Linked DNA regions of Homo sapiens: region 2 is linked to region 1. The links are contacts of gene promoters, found by promoter capture Hi-C in blood cells and fetal thymus (Javierre and others, 2016). All regions are on one chromosome and are shown on one strand. The core of a region is centred on a gene start or on the middle of the fragment in contact, and the rest is flanking DNA. Distances in the headings are between cores, read along the strand shown. Region 1 holds the start of KDM2A (lysine demethylase 2A). Region 2 overlaps LOC100130987 (a long non-coding RNA gene).

Evidence for each region. Contacts are between HindIII fragments. The CHiCAGO score rates a contact against its expected background, and 5 or more counts as called.
Region 2: a contact is called between a fragment that was not itself captured here and the fragment with the promoter of KDM2A in region 1, in 1 of 17 cell types (neutrophils). The highest score is 5.3, in neutrophils.

What each region holds. Positions count from the first base shown.
Region 1 is chr11:67,117,168-67,122,457 of GRCh38, reverse strand. KDM2A (lysine demethylase 2A) reads right to left here and starts at 3,195. Exons shown (of 21, transcript NM_012308.3): 1 at 2,409-3,195; 2 at 1,100-1,224. The coding sequence starts at 1,141. It overlaps LOC107984341 (a long non-coding RNA gene), which reads left to right and starts at 4,110. Exons shown (of 2, transcript NR_160735.1): 1 at 4,110-5,224. RefSeq lists silencers at 2,054-2,143, 2,669-2,808, 2,989-3,058, 3,199-3,638, 3,819-4,098 and 2 more and an enhancer at 3,709-3,758. The HindIII fragment of the contact is 9,806 bases long and covers 1-5,290 here.
Region 2 is chr11:67,321,971-67,327,260 of GRCh38, reverse strand. All of the region lies in intron 2 of LOC100130987 (a long non-coding RNA gene), which reads right to left. Among named protein-coding and RNA genes, the nearest start is that of SSH3, 21 kb to the right of the region's middle. The HindIII fragment of the contact is 9,734 bases long and covers 1-5,290 here.

The DNA of each region.
Region 1 (5,290 bases), core at 1,946-4,445:
CTACTTGCAAGGCTGAGGCAGGAGGATCACTTGAACCCAGGAGGTGGAGGCTGCGGTGAGCTCAGATCACGCCACTGCACTCCAAGCGTGGGCGACAGAGTGAGACTCAATCTCAATAAAAATAAATAAATAATAAAGAAGTCTCTTCTCAAAAAGAGTAAGGATCACTAGAAAATGTATTCGAGAACCATTCTTTTTCTCCTAAATTCAGTCTAAAATGCAGAGCCAAATAAAACCACCATAAATTCCTTTAGTAATCTTCTAGGCCTTTCAGGTCAGCAAATTTCACATACTACATACAATTCTGTCGCTTTCCTCATAGCCCACTCTTCAAACACAAATTCAGATTTTTATTAATACTGTGAGACTACTAATAAAGCTCTCTTTGGCTAAGAAAAACAAAAATTGAATTCTTAAAACTCCAATAGGGAAACCTTACGAGGAAAGCATGGCTTAAAGGATCCAAGTGTTCATATACAGATATAAGCCAATCCTTTCAAATCATGTCTAAAATTTCTTTCAACAAGATCTATCTCGTACATTCCTCCCAAAACACAGAACTTTATCAGCATCCAGTATTCTACCTACTTGTCTTCAATCAATCCCAACAACCCTTCAAAGCTACCAAAATGTTAATTTATAAAATAAAAGAAAATAATCCATAGTTCTCCCCGCTCAAAGTCACAAATCCTGGGACAACAAAATCTTAAAAAACGTATTGAACTATCCTTCCTCAAACAGCTTTGCCCCCAAAATTTATATTCTAATCTAACGTAATCAGATGTATTACAATGTCAGTACTGTAAAATCAGGAATCTTTGTCACATTGTAATCCACAAAATCCTTTGGTATACAATGGTTTCTATAAAAGCTAAAGGCTACATATAACTCCATTTCCAAACAAGATAAATATATAAAATATAAAACATGTTTGGCCAAAAGCCAAATTCGATATTAATACACCTTTCCCCCTCCTCTGGTGCACAGAAAAGTCACCCGAAAAGTTTTAATCACAGATTCACAGTATATTCACAACTGGAAACAAAATAGTTATCCTACTTTAAAACTGGAGGGTGTGGTGGGGGGAGAAAATACTAACCAATCTCTGGCTGTAACGAATCCTTTCTTCTTCGGGTTCCATCTCTCACTCTTCTGTTGAAATTACTGTAAAGAAACCACTCCAGGGCTGCCTTCCTCTTCCTCCTTAGGAACCAGATTGCAACACTAAAGAATAATGATATAAGCAGAAATGAGAACTCATTCTCAAACTTGTGCTTTCTGTTCACGGAAAGGAGTATTTAAGGTAAGTGTTAAAGGCTCTCTGAAAAATCAGGTTCCTCTTCATGAGTTTGGGACCTTTCTGCTCTTGGGCAAGTGGTTCCATGTCATGTTCAACATTAATCACATTACAACTGTCGGAGGCCTAGACGAAACGAGATGTTGGTTTCAGTTCCTTGTGGAAGGGCCACACCACCAGTTTCTCCCCACAGGATTACAACTAGCAAGGATCTCCTTCATGGCAGCATCAGCAAGAAAAAAAAAAAGCCCAGGACTTTTATCTCCAGAGAGCTGACCAGGTGAAGCACCACTGAACTAATCCAGATCCTAACCAAATTAGTTCTCTCTCACCGGTAATCAGAAACTAAAGGAAAGAAGGGCAAACTGACTATGTAAAAAGAGGACAAAAAATTAGGATTTAAATGACCCCAAAACAATTTCCCATACCCCTCCTGTAAGGCCGTGCACAATCGTCGCCTTCCTTTCTAGACTCCCCGGATCTTATCATTCCCAAATCTACCCTCCACCCCAACACAAGATGTGCACAACTCTGAAACAAATTTCAGAGGTGCAAATCAAGGACCAAAATTCCATCTGATCTTTTTGGATAAAGTAATAAAATAAACGATTGCATCTAAGGATACAAGGAAAATACATCTTGTCCAAAAATTAAATAAAAGACCGGCCGGCGCGACGGTCAATCCGTAATACCAAGAAAGGGTTTTCTTTTTTCTAAATATTCTCGTGGATAATGGCTTCCATTGAGAACACAGGTTCCCCCCGTTTTTGTCACTACATTACAGCCACGTTAACAGCATCCTTTCAAAACTGCTACGAGACCAGAGGACCCGATGACACAGTTTGCAGAGCAGTTAGAGGCAGAGCCCTCCCGGAGGAAGCCCTGGCCCGAAGTCGGGAGGGAAACCGTGCTTGCACCCCCTGGGCGACGACCGCCTGGGCATGGAGCAGCCAGGGCCGGAGAGGAAAAAGGGCGAATCTCGCTGGGCTCCCCCAGGAAAAGGCGTTTCAATGGTTCACCCATCGGAAAAAGAGATAGAAACTTTGCATTCAGTCTTTGGATAACACAGTCAACCAAACTTCCAAATGAGGGGGGGGAGGGGGAAACTCACCGGAGATTCTGCTCTTGAGTTCTTGTCCAAGTGAGAAGTAAAAGATTCCAAAGCTGAGAGGAATAATTAAATCCCAAACGTCGTCTTCGGTTTTTCCGTGGATCAACCCAGTATCCAGAGAGGGTCAGAGCGACCAGGAAAAGGGAGCAAACAGTTGCTGAATCAAACCTTCTCTTCTGGCTTTGGAGACCGGGAGTCGGAGGCGTCAGGAGAGAGGAGCGCGACCCCTCGGCGCCGAGCCCGGGGCGCCCCCGCCTCCCCCAGGCCAGCGGTCAGCAGCCCGGGCCCGAGCCCCGGGCCGGCCCCGGCCGCAGGGAGCGCCCTCCTCGCCGTGCCCTCGGCCAGCAGGGGCTGGTCGCCTGCGGGAGCAGCGGCCGATCAGCTGAGACCGGCCGGCCCGAGGCTCCCCGCGCCGCCCCGGCCCCCCGGAACGCGGGCCCCGGCCCCGGGGGGCGGACAGGGCGGGAGCGGCGCGGCGCGCCGGGATGGGGGCCCTGGCTCCCCTCGCGTCTCCCCCTCAGGTCTGGCTCCGCGCTGCGGGACGAGCCCCCCGGCTACTCCCCAGTCGCAGAAGAGGGATTCCGGGGGATGGGCCCCCTGGCGTTGCCCCTCCTCCCGGAGCGTCCCCTGCCCAGGAAAGACAGAGCGGCCACGGGCCCAGCCGCTGGGAAGGTGCTCCGAGAGCCGCCGCCGCCGCCGCCGCTGCCGGGGAGGGGTGTTGTTTCCCTCACACAGGAGGAGCCGCTGAAGCAGCCGCCGCCATTTTGAACCCGTCAGACTCTCACATACACACAGCTCCTCCGAGGCGCACTGCGCAGGCGCCACCTCCCCACCCCTCCTCCAGCTCGCCTCTCCACCCCCCCACCCCCTTCAGGCCTCCCTGCGCTTCTTACCGCTCTCCCGGGCGCGCGTGAACGCGCACGCGTCACTCCCCTCTAACGCGGACACACCGCCGGCGCGCGCACGCGCGGATGCGTCGGCCTCGAATCGCCCGCGCCCCGCGACGCCGACGCGGCTCCCTGCGCCCCCTCGCGTCAGGCCGCCCGCCCTCCCTCCCTCCCGCCAGCCCGCCGCCCCCGCTCCCCGTCGGCGTTCTTCCAGGGCTCGGGCCTGGCTGGCTGCTCGCGCCTGCGCGCAGGGCACCGATCCTCCTCCGCGCGCCCTCCCCCCACACACCCTCACACACACTTCGCCTCTGCGACCCCGCCCCTCGCGGCCAGCTGTGCTGGCCGCCCTCCCCCACCCCCCTGGGAGGGTGGTGACCCCCGACCCCCCACAAAGCACATCACCCCCCCCAAGCAGTGGGAGATCTGCGTCCCCTTCCCCTTCAACCGCCTTTGGCCCCAGGCTGCCCGTCACAGTCACACAACCTGAGGGCCGGGAGGCCTGGGCCAGGGCAACCGATACCCGCCTCAAAGCAGGGTCTCCCGGGGTCAAGCCGCCGGGCTGGGCCCGCGGGACCTGGGCTCCCGGCTCAGGCCTGCCCAGGGCGAGAGGGCGCAGGGAAGGGGCGCATGGCCGCCGGCTGCCCTCCCTTCGCGTGCCGGCCGGTGGGCCGAGGCCGGCTTGCCCGCCATTCCCGGGCAGGCCCCGGCGCCGCCGCCACGGGGCCCGTCTGCCCTGGGCCCGGGGGCTCCTCGGTGCAGCGGCCTGGCCCCGCCTCACCCACTGCTCGTCGCTCCGAAGGGGCAGGAAACAGGAGTAGCATGTCTGTCCTGGGCTCGGCTCCCCGGGGGTGCTGCAGGCGCTTAACAAGGGCGTCCACAGGTACCAGGCGCAGAAGCGGTCTCCGCGACGGCCCGGGGGCGGTGGCGGCCGGCGCGCCCACCGCCGGCCGGAGGCGCCCGGCGAGGTGGCCCAGGAAGCCCCCGCTCCTCGGCCACGCTCAGCTTTCCGCCGCGCCGGTGCCCCCGGCGGCCCGGGTGGGACGTGACCCCGCCCCCGGCGAGTCGGGGCGCCCCCCACGGAGGGGTGCGCGGGCCGCCCCCGGCCCCCGGCCCGACCCTGCCGCCCTGGGCCGTGGCGGGCGCGGGAGGCCCGGCCGGGAAGATGTCTCCTGTTGGTGCGCGCAGCTTCGCGCGGGGGTCAGCGACGGGGCAGCAGCCGCCCGAGCTGCGCCGGCCCTGCCCACGGACCGACTCCCGCGGCCCGACAGCTGCCCGACGGGCCAGCAGGCTCCGAACGTCGACGGAGCCCGGCCGGAGGTACCCGAGCAGTGCCATGCGAGCAGCCCAGCCGCGATCCGGGCATTTCCCCAGCCAATCTCTTGCTCTGGGGCCCGTTTAAATTCTAAATCCCACAAAGGACGGTGGCTGGGGCGTTACACATCGGGGTTGGCACTATTGGCTCCACTACGCCCTTGCTGAGCGGTGTCACACAAATCTTTTTCTCCCTGCCTTGGTTTCCCACTCTTTAAGCTCTGACTCCTGGAAGCAGGGAATGGAGCAGAGAGGTAGGGCATGGAGTGAATCATATAACCTGCATAAACAGCCATCAACTCTTTCAGGAGGACGTTAGCGAGACAATTAAAATAATGATACCTTCTAATTCTATCAAGGCTTGAACTCCAAGGTAAAAGCGCTACGTAAATGCAAGGTATTATTATTTATTACCACAGAAGGTTTTTCTGCATGCACAACTTGGGGAGTTTGTACAGACATTCTCTGCTTTGTTTCACAACATCCTTAGGAGACAAGCTAAAGTGCCTGTTAGCGCTATATTCATTTTAAAGATAGACAACTGAAGTATAGAAAGGTTAAAGAGCTTGCATAATTACTCCAACAGCCGACTGAAACATCTCACAAACAGCAAAAAAGGTTTGTTAATAAGATATCATCTTCTTGCGTTCTAGTCACTGGGAAATATTCTTTATTTTGATACCA
Region 2 (5,290 bases), core at 1,618-4,117, 210 kb before region 1:
TATCGGCTGGGTGCAGTGGCTCATGCCTGTAATCCTAGCACTTTGGGAGGCCAAGGCGGGCAGATCACCTGAGGTTAGGGGTTCAAGACCAGCCTAGCCAACATGGCGAAACCGTGTCTCTACTAAAAATACAAAAATTAGCTGGACATGGTGGCGCATGCCTGTAATCCCAGCTACTAGGGAGGCTGAAGCAGGAGAATCGCTTGAACCCAGGAGGCAGAGGTTGCACTGAGCCGAAACCGTGCCACTGCACTCCAGCCTGGGCGACAGAGTGAAACTCCGCCTCAAAAGAAAAATAAAAATAAAAAATAAAATAAACACAGTATTATCAATAATGGGATAAAGCAACATTACATGACTAAAGTAATGCAACAAATAGGAAGAATATGTTATACAATATCCTTAGTATTCTTGTAGTATTATGTAGTATTCTTGCAAAAAGGCTTACCCTGAATCTAATTATAAGGAAATATTCAAAGAGACCCAAATTGAAGGATATCCAACTAGCTTGGATTCTTCAAAAATGTCAATGTCATGAAAAACAAAAAGACAAGAAGACTATTCTAAATTAAGGAAGAATCAAGAGACATGACGACCAAATACAATCAGTGATCCCTCATTCAATCCTGAATCAGATATTTTTTAAAGCTGTAATGGAAAACATAGGGATATTTAGAGAAATGTAATTATGATCTGTAGTCTAGATAATAATACTGCATTTTTATTTCTTGGTCACTTTGTAAAACAGTGTGGCAGTTTCTCACAAAGTTAACAGAATTGCCATATTATCCAGCAATTCCACTCTTAGTATGTACCCTAAAGAAGTGAAAGCAGTGACTCCGATACTAGTAAACCAATGTTTATGGCGGCATATTCACAACAGCCAAAGGCTAAAACATTCCAAACGTCTATCAGCAGATGAATGGGTAAACAAAATGTGGTCTATCCATATAAGAGAATATTATTCAGCCTTAAAAAAAAATTGAAATTCTGAACATGTGCTACAACATGGGTGAACCTTAAAAACATGCTAAGTGAAATAAGCCACACATCAAAGGACAAATAATGTGTGTCTCAACTTATATGAGGTAATTAGAAGAGGCAAATTCACAGACAGAAAGTAGAATTGAGGTTACCGGGGGGAATGGGGAGCTATCATTCAATGGGTACACAGTTTCTGTTTGTGATGATGAAAAAGTTCTGGAAATGGATGGTGGTCACAGTTACACAACATTGTGAATGTACGTAATGCCACAACTATATACTTTAAAACTGCAAAATAGTAAATTTTATGTATATTTTACCACATTTTTATTTTTTGTTGTTTTTTAGAGACGGTGTCTCACTCTGTCATCCAGGCTGGAGTGCAGCGGTGCAATCATGGCTCACTGCAGCCTCTCAAACTCCTGGGCTCAAGCCATCCTATTGTCTCAGCCCCCTGAGTAGTTGGGACTATAGGCAAGCACCAGTATGCCCAGTTAAAAAAAAAATTTTTTTTTGAGATGGAATCTCGCTCTGTTGCCCAGGCTGGAAGGCAGTGGGGTGATCTCGGCTCACTGCAACCTCCGCCTCCCAGGTTCAAGCGATTCTCCTGCCTCAGCCTCCCAAGCGGCTGGGATTACAAGTGCTCGCCACCACGCCAGGCTAATTTTTGTATTTTCAGTAAAGATGGGGTTTCACCATGTTGGCCAGGCTGGTCTCGAACTCCTGACCTCGTGATCCACTTACCTCAGCCTCCCAAAGTACTGGGATTACAAGTGTGAGCCACCGCGCCTGGCGTGCCCAGTTAATTTTTAACTTTTTTTTTTTTTTTTTTTTTTTTTTACAAATAGGGTCTCACTCTGTCGCTGAGGCTGGAGTGCAGTGGCAAGAACATTGCTCACTGTAGCCTCAACCTCCTGGGCTCAAGTGCTCTTCCTGCCTTGGCCTCCCAAAGTGCTGGGATTATAGGCATGAGCTACCACACCTGGCCTAATAATCACATTATCTTTTTTTTTTTCCTTCTTCTTCATTTTTTTCTTTTTTTTTTGAGACAGGGTCTCACTTTGTCACCGAGGCTAATTTTTAAATATTTTTGTAGAGATGGGAATCTCACTATGTTGTCCAGGCTAGTCTTGAATCCTGGCCTTAAGCGATCCTCCCACCTTGGCCTCCCAAAGTGCTGGGATTACAGGCATGAGCCACCACACTCAATCCCAGACTTTTTTTTTTTTTTTTTAAGAAAAGACTGGCCAGGCGCAGTGGCTCACGCCTTTAATTCCAGCACTTTGGGAGGCCAGGGCAGGCAAATCACGAGGTCAAGAGATCGAGACCATCCTGGCCAACATGGTGAAACCCCATCTCTACTAAAAGTACAAAAATTAGCTGGGCGAAAATAAATAAATAAATAAATAAATAATTAGCTGGGCGTGGTGGTGCACGCCTGTAGTCCCAGCTACTTGGGAGGCTGAGGCAGGAGAATCGCTTGAACCTGGCAGGCGGAGGTTGCAGTGGGCCAAGATCGCACCACTACACTCCAGCCTGGTGACAGAGTGAGACTCAGTCTCAAAAAAAAAGGAAAAGAAAGGATTGTGGTTATGTAGAATGATGTCCTTATTATGAGGAGATACAGACCAAAATATTTAGGGGTAAAGTGTCATAATGCCTGCAACTTATTTTCAGTTGGTCCAGGAAAAAAAGAGAGAAAAGAAAGAAACATGTAAATAATAACTGGCAAATCTAGGTGTAGGTTACATAACTGTTCACTGTACTACTCTTTCAACTTCTCTGCACTGAAATTTTTCAAAATAAAAAGTGCTCAAAAAATATTTTTAAATGGAGAGATGAATGGTGGAAGGAACCTTCCCAGACAGAAAGATAAGCATAAGCAAAGGTGAAGAGGTGGAAAAAGTTTTTCGAGAAACAGTCGGTAGTCTAGTTTGATGAGAGTGAAAGGTACATCGTAGGATGTTCTGGGAGATAAAGCCAGAAAGGTAGGCTGGCATCAGATTCATAAAAGGCCTTCAGCAAAAGAATAGAGAGTCTGAGAATGGCGTGAACCCCGGGGGGCAGAGCCTGCAGTAAGCCGAGATCGCGCCACTGCACTCCAGCCTGGGCGACAGCCAGACTCCGTCTCAAAAAAAAAAAAAAAAAAAAAAAAGAATAGAGAGTCTGGGCTGGGCGCAGTGGTTCATGCCTGTAATCCCAGCACTTTGGGAAGCCAAGGCGGGCAGATCACAAGGTCAGGAGTTTGAGACCAGCCTGGCCAACATGGTGAAACCCTATTTCTACTAAAAGTACAAAAATTAGCCAGGCACAGTGGCACGCGCCTGTAATTCCAGCTACTTGGGAGGCTGAGACAGGAGAATTGCTTGAACCCGGGAGATGGAGGTTGCAGTGAGCTGAGATCACGCCACTGCACTCCAGTGCAGAATAGAGTCTGTACTGCACTTGGCAGGCCATAGAGAGCACACCAAAGGCATTTAACACAGGAGTAACACATGCGAAGGGATGAATACGTCTGTGTAGTTAAGGTGCTCTGGACAGACTAAAGGGCATCACCAGCTGTAAAGTTATCACAGTAGCTGAGGCGTAGGAACAGGGACTTCGGCTGGGTAAAGGAAGTGGGGACAAAAGGCAACTGTTTTGTGAAGGACTATCAGAATCTGATAATTGATTAAATGTGGAAAGTCAGCGTTACCCTGAGATTTACAACTGGGTATAGGAGACTATTGATAATGGAAAAGTCAGCAGGAGGGGCTGGTTTGGAGCTCAAGACTCAGAGGTGAGCTGTAAGAAAAAAGAATGAGTTTAGTTTTATCCTAGGCTTCCTGTCAAATGGATCCTTCACAGTTCCTTGTACTCAAACAAGGGTCTAGCCAGAAACAGAATTCTCCTTCCAAGAACAGCTCCTCCATCAGACCAGCCTCACCTGGCCCCACAACCCAGTCCCAGGGACCATTAGGCCCTTACAGCTACCCTGGGCCCCTGGTGCCTTCAGTTATTCTCCGACAGCATCCCTTCCACCTAGTTCCTTCCTATCTAGCCTCCATGTACTTCCAAGTCTTCTTTCCCTAACGTCTTCTCTTATCTGAGTCCTTTTTCCTTTTGAAGAGGAGAAGAATCAGAGCTATCTGCCCAGAAGCGCAAGTCCTGCAGCATGCAGGCCAAGATGGGCACCCGTAGGAAGCTCAAGTGCAGATAGGCCAGGCAAGCATATGTGCCCCTAGGGTCAACAGCTGCTGCTTGCACTACCTAGAGGGAGGAGAGGAGGGAAAGAGGGAAGAGAGGAATGAACAGGGCTGAGGTGGAGGGTGAGGGTGAAGCTGGAGCAGGATGGTGGGGTAGGCAAGTGAGGACCACCTGTGGATCTTGCTGCATATAGGCCTTGCTATACACAGCCCCACCCACCACAGGGATATTCGGGAGTAGGGACGGGGGATCTCTGCTTATCAGCTCAGGCATCCCATTGACCCCAAAATGATTCCATTGGTTGCCTCCAAACCACATGCTCTAGGCCCCATGGCACTCAGCCTCCCTCCCAATTTCCCATTTCTGTGTTGAAAATAAGAGCTTTGGGTTGGCAGGAGTGAGGACATTCTGAGAAGGCAGAGTTCAGCCTGGCATAGGAACATTTGGGATGATCAGATCTCAGACGGTGGACAGAGCTGCGGGAGGCATCTAGCTGAGCCACCAGGCAGGGTGGAGGGTGTGAAAAAGGTCTCTCGAGGGCCATCAGAGGATGGGAGTCGGTCTGCCAAACCAAGAGAGGAGCTGCACAGCAGTGTGTGCTGCCTGGGGAGACAGGCTGCTGCTGTTCTGGGCAAAGCAGGCCAGCTCCAAGCCTTCTCAGGCCATATGAAGATAAATTAGGTAGGATGCATATAACCAGCTCCCTCTCCCCAGGGGCATCCTCCTTTACCCAAACCTGTCTCCCACCTCCGCCTCCATGGCTCTGGCTTGAGTTATGCCAGCAGGTGGGACCCTGCTTTAGCCTTTAGCCTGAGCCTTTACATTCCCTGCCGCACTCACCTTCCACCTTTACCTCTGTGGCTCACTGAGCTGCTCTGCCAGGGCTGCCAATGAGATGGGGTCGCATAGGGTGTAGCATTACTATCCAGGCCAATCCCATCAGGCAAACTTTTGCTAACTTCCTTCCCCACCCAGTGGGAGAACAGTTTTCCTATTCCTGGTTCTCTAACCCAGATACAGAATCCCCTGAAGTCTCACAGCTACCCAGGGTGCCTATCTGGGAGAGGGTGCACCTGGCAGAGTCAAGGGGAAGAGCACAAGTTCTCAGTGCCCTGAGAAC